Linked DNA regions of Homo sapiens: region 1 is linked to region 2. Evidence: promoter capture Hi-C in human tissues and cell types (Jung and others, 2019). All regions are on one chromosome and are shown on one strand. The core of a region is centred on a gene start or on the middle of the fragment in contact, and the rest is flanking DNA. Distances in the headings are between cores, read along the strand shown.

The links. Contacts are between HindIII fragments. The study calls those that stand out against the background at their distance.
Region 1: the fragment with the promoter of FADS6 here is called in contact with a fragment that was not itself captured in region 2 in 1 of the 25 tissues and cell types used here (thymus).

What each region holds. Positions count from the first base shown.
Region 1 is chr17:74,891,249-74,894,950 of GRCh38, reverse strand. FADS6 (fatty acid desaturase 6) reads left to right here and starts at 1,318. Exons shown (of 6, transcript NM_178128.6): 1 at 1,318-1,599; 2 at 2,262-2,428. The coding sequence starts at 1,356. The HindIII fragment of the contact is 12,637 bases long and covers 1-3,702 here.
Region 2 is chr17:75,022,208-75,025,543 of GRCh38, reverse strand. No RefSeq gene overlaps it. Among named protein-coding and RNA genes, the nearest start is that of TRR-CCT1-1, 10 kb to the left of the region's middle. RefSeq lists a silencer at 196-353. The HindIII fragment of the contact is 7,781 bases long and covers 1-3,336 here.

The sequences.
Region 1 (3,702 bases), core at 69-2,568, 130 kb after region 2:
GCTGAGGGGGAGGATCACTTGAGCCTAGGAAATCGAGGCTGCAGTGAGCTGTGATTGTGCCACTGCACTCCAGCCTGAGTGATAGAGCGAGACCCTGTTTCTAAACAAAGAGAGAAAAAAAAGAATTCCTGAAGGAAAACACCAGGAAGGAGTCAAAAGGAATCAATGTCATTAGGATCCCTGACTGTCTCTCCCTTACCCCACCCACCCAACTTCTCTTTCCTAGGGGTCTCCTGCTAAAGATGCCACTGTCCTCACCATACCAGATCCCTTAAGTCATGAAACTGGGAGTAAGTAAAACAAAAAAGAAAAGAGAAAGGGTATTCAGAAGCAGGGAAGAGGAGTTTGTAGAGGACAGAGGCTTATCCCCTGAGGACCAAGGCCATCTCCAGCAGTGCGGGGTGGGGGCCTGGGCTGATGGGAAGGGGATGTGACAGGTGTGGCTCCCACATCTCAGAGGGCTTGGCTGAGGCCCTGGCCCTGGGTTCAGGCCTGGGCGCTCTTGAGGGAGTGGAATGGCAGCGGGACCCGGCTGGTCTGCCTGCCCACCCAGAATGATGACCTCCGGATGTGTATTCCCTGTAGCTACCCGTCTCACCCAAAACATTATTGGGCTGAAGAGCCAGCTCCCCTGGGTCACCTCTGCTGAAGCCATACTCAGAGGGGACCTCTCACTCCTTGACCCACGGGGAGGGGGAGTGGGGAGTCCTTGAACTTTCTGCCCTAGGAATTCCCAGATGTTTCTGTGCCAAGCATTGCCCTAGGTACTGAAGACAGAGCTTGGGCAAAACGAGGACGTCTCTACGGCACTGAGGGTCCGTCTGTTGGCAGAGACAGACGACAGCATGTGTCATGTGTGTCACGTACGAGGGGAGCTGCTCAGTGCCACTACGAATAGTCAGGGTCGAGGGAAGAGAATGCTCGGACAGATCTCAGGGACCGAGGGAACTCAGGGAGTTATTTGAGGTCGGAGGTCAGGGAAGGCCCTCGGGGCGGGGCGGGGGTGGGGGGTGTCTCCACTGGGGTCTCCGTGCCCCTGACGCCTCCGTCCCTACTACCTGGGCTGGGTCTCACCGCAGGGTCGCCTCCCCGCCTAGCCACTCTCAGCTCATCGGCCTGGCTCCTCCCTCCGCGGCGGTTCTGATGCCGCCTGCCAGGGTCGCGCGCCTGAGCCGGGCCTGGGTCGCCAGCGCCCGCAGCAGAGGAGCCAGGGTGTCTCGCACCTTGACCCCGGGGGCGGGTGTCCCCAGGCGGCGCGTGACTCCGCCCCGGCCCGCCCCGCCTCGCCTGCACCGCAGACACACGCCCCAGTCCTCCAGTCCTCCGTGCGCGTCGGGCCCGAGCCCACAGAGTCCATGGAACCCACGGAGCCGATGGAACCTACGGAGCCCATGGAACCTACGGAGCCCATGGAACCTACGGAGCCCATGGAACCTACGGAGCCCATGGAACCGGCGCGGAGCGCGCACCGTGGGGGCGAGGCGCTGCTGCGGGAGCTGGAGGTGCTGGTGCAGGACGTGGTGAGGACGAGCTCCTGGTGGGAGCGCCACGGCGTGGACTGCGCCATCCTCGCGCTCAGCCTCTTCGCCTTGCCGGCAGGTGAGGAACGCGGGGACCCGGCGTCCCGGCCGGGCTGCGGGTGGGGGCGGGGTGCGGCGGAGGTGGCGGCGCGGGGTCTGCAACAGCAGCCGTGGGAGTGCAGCCTGCGGAGTGGACTGGCGGCGGCAGGGAGGCGGAGGTGGTCGGGGCCCCGCACCCAAGGATGGAGGGTCACACCCCGAACCTGAGAGTCTGGACTGGGGTGTTCTGCCCTGTGTACCCTAGGAGGGGGCGCAGGAGGGTGGTGGAAGGGAAAGTTGAGAGGAGCGGGGGAGTGGCCGGGAGTGATGAGGTGCCCCCCCACCCCCGGGAAGGGAGACGGTGTTCTTTGGGGACCTAGGTGAGTGGGGAGGGGGTGGGAGTTTCCCCTGGACCCTTCCTGGTCTGGAACACCCATGGTACCTGAGGCCCCAACATTGCTTTGGCTGGGGGCCCAGGACCACGCACTGGAGAGTCAGGACCAGGCACGGGAGAGTCAGGACCGCTGGAGGGGCAGTCCTGGTTCCCCTCAGGCCACAGTGGGACCTGCCTCACTCCGGCCAGTGGCAGCCCCCAGAGCCTAGCCCACTTTAGCCTGGGCTCCCAGGGTAAGGGTTGAGGTATTTGGGCCCAGATCACCCAGAGCTAGAGAAAGACCCGTCTTCTTCCTCCTCTCCACGCAGGCTTCCTGTGCCTGCGCTGGGAGAATGCCCTGGTCTTTGCATCCGGCATCACCATCTTGGGTGTGTGCCACTACACACTCACTGTCAAGGGCAGCCACCTGGCCACTCATGGGGCCCTCACCGAGTCCAAACGCTGGAGCAAGATCTGGCTGCTTTTCTTTGTGGAGGTGAGCCTGGGAGAAGGAGGATGCAGGCAGCTGCTGGGACCGTGTGGCAGCCTCATTCTTCTGTTCGAGCATGCGGGTGTGTCCAGCTGTGCATGTGCCCACGGGGGCAGGCCGCTGCAGCTGATGGTATGCCGGTCCACTGGTGCAGTATGCACTACAGCGTGTCTGAGGACTTCTCCAAGCCCTTGAGCGGGTCTTTGCACCCCATGGGTAGAGAGTTGTAGGATGAGTATGCCGCTGTCTTGGCCCACAGTTACAACCAGTGGGGCCTCCAGATTTTGCAGTCAGGGTTTAAAATGTGACCCACAGACAGAAAGGGAGGGGGAGGAGGGGCCCAGTGTCCACAAGGGGCAGCGTCCTTACTCCGGATGATGCTCCTCTGATGCCTGGCCATGGCCTAGCCTTCCTGAGAAGCCCCCTGCTCCCCGGGGTCAGCTCCAGGAAGTACCCACCTCACCTGACCCTTGCCCTCCCTTCTTCCACCCCTTCCCAGTTCGACCTTGGCCTTCTTACCTTCGGGCACGCCCAGGAAGGCAAAAGTTTCGACCAGCTTGTCTTTCTCTCTTGACTGGTCTCCAGGCCTCCCCAGTTCCTCTGCTGAACTTGCTCCCTCCTCCTTTCCAGGGGGACCGTCGCCTGGTCACCCAGGTGATGGTTCCCCTAAATAAATGAATGGCCACACCTTATGAATAAATAGGAAAGCTGGGACCAGAAACAGTTCTTTTCTGGAAGGACTGGTCGTTGTGACCAATTAACTCAATTATTAAGTTTTTATAAAGTTATATAACTTTATATAACTGTCTACACACACATATATCATCACTATCCACTCAGCTGAGTGGATGAAGCATTTCTCACCTAGCACTATCCCCTGCTTCTTCCCCTCCCCTGCCCCTCTCACCAGCACACACATCAAAGTGCTGAAGACAAGAGGAACTGACAGGCTTCTGATCCTCAGGGTCAATTTCAAGACAATTCCTTTCCCACGGAGCCCTGAGCATTAGTCCCGGCCAGACTCTAAGACACGGGCCAGGCTCTGGAGTCTGGGTCAGCTGCCCGCCAAGTTTGTAATCCACAGAGAGGCAAGGGAGACATTGGGCTGTGCTGGTGACATGGACTGTGTCATAATGCTGGGTCACAGGGGCAGAATGAGCTATGTTTGGATTTTTAAAAAAGCTGTACTGAGGCTGCGCGCGGTGGCTCACACCTGTAATCCCAGCACTTTGGGAGGCCGAGGCAGGTGGATCGCCTGAGGTCAGGAGTTTGAGACCAGC
Region 2 (3,336 bases), core at 787-3,286:
AGAACTTTGCAGTGTTACAGCTCTTAAAGGGGCACGTCTGGAGTTGTTGGTTCCTCCTGATGGGTTCGTGGCCTTGCTGACTTCAGGAATGAAGCCACAGACCCTCACGGTGAGTGTTACAGCTCATAAAGGTAGTGCAGACCCAGAGGAAGCAGCAGCAAAATTTATTGTGAAGAGCAAAAGAACAAAGCTTCCACAGCATGAAACAGCACCCCAGCGGATTGCCACTGCGGCTTGGGTGGCCAGCTTTTATTCCCTTACTTGGCCCCACCCACATCCTGCTGATTGGTCCATTTTACAGAGAGGTGATTGGTCCGTTTTTACACAGTGCTGATTGGTGCGTTTACAAACCTTTAGCTAGACAGAGTGCTGATTGATGTGTTTACAATCCTTAGGTAGACAGAAAAGTTACCCAAGTCCCCACCCGACCCAGAAGCCCAGTCGGCTTCACCTCTCCTAAGGAGATGGTAATTGTGCTGTAGAGGTCTATGGCAGCACTGCCTGCTGAAGTGGGGGACAATTGTTGCACGTTTGTAAGGGCATGGCTGTGCCTTGGTTTGTTGAGGGGCTCGAGGCAGGCCTCTCTTCCCGTTTCCTGAAAGAGGTTGTCCATCCTTGTTAAATTTAGAATGACACTGACTTGCCCAGTGTTTGCTTTTCTTACACTGGAGACATATACCGGGACTTTTCTGTTGACTGATGGTAGTAATGTTTGCCTTTTGATTTCCTTTTCTACATTCCTTTCTTGGGTGTCCAAATTGACCACAATTAAAGCAAGGGCCTGAGAAATGGGGTATATTCTTTCCTACTCTTAATCCAGCCATAGCCTGAGCTAAAAGAGTTGCCTTATGTAAGTTACCTCCAATGCCATCGCAATCCTTAATATATTTAGCTAAATGAGCCGTCCCTCTCAGGGGTCTAATAGCAGTTTGACACTGCACTAGCATTTTCGTATGCAGGAAGCTGTATTACAACATCCTGAGCCGTTTTATTAGTAATGGCTTTATACACAGCCTCTTGGAGCTGAGCAATAAAATCAATATATGGTTCTTTAGGTCCTTGACGGATAGAACTGACAGAAGGATGTTTTTCGCCTGTAACATTTATCCTTTCCCATGCCCATAAGCACACAAAGCGCAGCTGAACAATGGCAGCATCCTCCATTACTGCTTGATTTCTCTAATCAACCCCAGTTAGGGCCAACTCCCATTAACTGTTCAAAGGAAACAGGCACAGGTGGCTGTGCTTGTATGTTTTCCCCTGCCTGAGTTTGAGCTTCATCAGCCCACCAGGTTTTAAACTGCAAATACTGAGATAGGGTGAGAACAGATTTTGTCAAAGTATCCCAGCCACATGGTATTAATCTATTATCAAGAGCCATATTTTTTAATAGAGTTTGCACAAAAGGAGAGTTCGGTCCGTATTGACTAATGGCTTGCTTAAATTCCTTTAGTAACTTAAAAGGAAAAGTGGCCAATTAGCTGTATTCTGTCTTCTCTGCTGGATGATAGTAACAGGAAATTGCCATGCTTCAAGGTCTCCCTCGGCTCTAGCTTTATGAATAGAATTTTCTATAGCATCACCAATTGCTCCAGGTTTTAATATTGCAACTATAGGAGTAGTAAGTTTTTCAGCTAATTCATCTTCTCACCCATTAAGAGGAGAGAGAGGAGGTGGCCATTCACTTAATTTAGCAGGGGGCGCCGACGGGCTAGTAAAACATACTTTTTTTAGTTTTCCTTTCTTTAATCTCCTCCGGTAGCTGTTCCTCACACTCAGAATCTGAAGTTAGTTTTTTACACTCATCCTCCTCTTCCTCATCTCAATCTGCCTCATCATCTGTTTGAAATGGCTCAAGAGCTGCCTTTATTAGCGCCCACATGACCAAATAGAAACTGGAATATCTGCTCCCTCTTTATACGCCTTTTAAAAATCTCTGCCGATTCTCTCCCATTCATCCAACTCCATAGTCGCTTGTTCCGGAAGCCATGGGCAAAACTGCTTTACTGTACTAAAGAGTGATAACAAATTCTGAGTACTAACTTTCACTCCCCCTCTTCATAATAAATGCCAACAAATTCTGAGTACTTTCACTCCCCCTCTTCGTAATAAATGCCTTAAGAAATTTAAATAAGGCCGGGCGCGGTGGCTCACACCTGTAATCCCAGCACTTTGGGAGGCCGAGGCGGGCGGATCACGAGGTCAGGAGATCGAGACCGTCCTGGCTAACACGGTGAAACCTCGTCTCTACTAAAAAAAAAAAATACAAAAAATTAGCCGGGCGCGGTGGCGGGTGCCTGTAGTCCCAGCTACTCGGGAGGCTGAGGCAGGAGAATGGCCTGAACCCAGGAGGCAGAGCTTGCAGTGAGCCGAGATCGCGCCGCTGCACTCCAGCCTGGGCGACAGAGCAAGACTCCTCTCAAAAAAAAAAAAATAATAAAATAAATTTAAATAAGCAAAATGTCTTTCACTTTATCCCATTGTTACCCTGGTTCTTCCGAGCGCTCAGCTTTCCTGCCGAGCTTCTTTTAGACGCCTTTGGGTGTCCTTTGACGATGTGTTCTCCGCTTTCACACGCTCTAGCGTTCCTTCACCAGGGTCTTTGTCACCCCACGTTGGGCAGCCAGGAATGTTGAGGTGATCAGACCCAACACCAGGTCATGGGGGCAACAAAGTCCGGCGGAGTCAAAGGAATTAGAAAAAGACAGTTTGAGAGAGAAAGTAGCACCAGGAAGCCATCGCCAGTGTTGAGGCTGTGAAGACCCCCAGCTCTGGGAGCCCACGGTATTTATTGGTGCTCAAAGAAACAGGTGGTGAGGATGTGGGGGTTGAAAAGAAAGTGTATCAAGTGAAGGAGAAACATACGGCTGCTTGAGAGAATGGGAGTGCTAGAAGCAAGGAGCCAGCAAGTCTAGCAGACATGCAAGCCCTGCCTCAGCTTCTCTCCCAACACTCAGCTTTTCTCCCAACGCTCAGCTTTTCTCCCAACAGCTTTCTGTTACCCACATCTCTTAAAACCTTTGCCGGGTGCAGTGGCTCACGCCTGTGATACCAGCACTTTGGGAGGCCGAAGTGGGCGGATCACCTGAGGTCAGGAGTTCAAGAGCAGCCCAGCCAACATGGTGAAACCCCATCTCTACAAAAATACAAAAATTAGCTGTGCATGGTGGCATGCACCTGTAACCCCAGCTACTGGGGAAGCTGAGGCAGGAGAATCGCTTTAACCTGGGCGAAGGAGGTTGCAGTGAGCCAAGATCACGCTATTGCACTCCAGCCTGGATGGCAGAGTGAGACTCCATCTCAAAAATAAAAGAACCTAAACTCCTTAACTTGAAT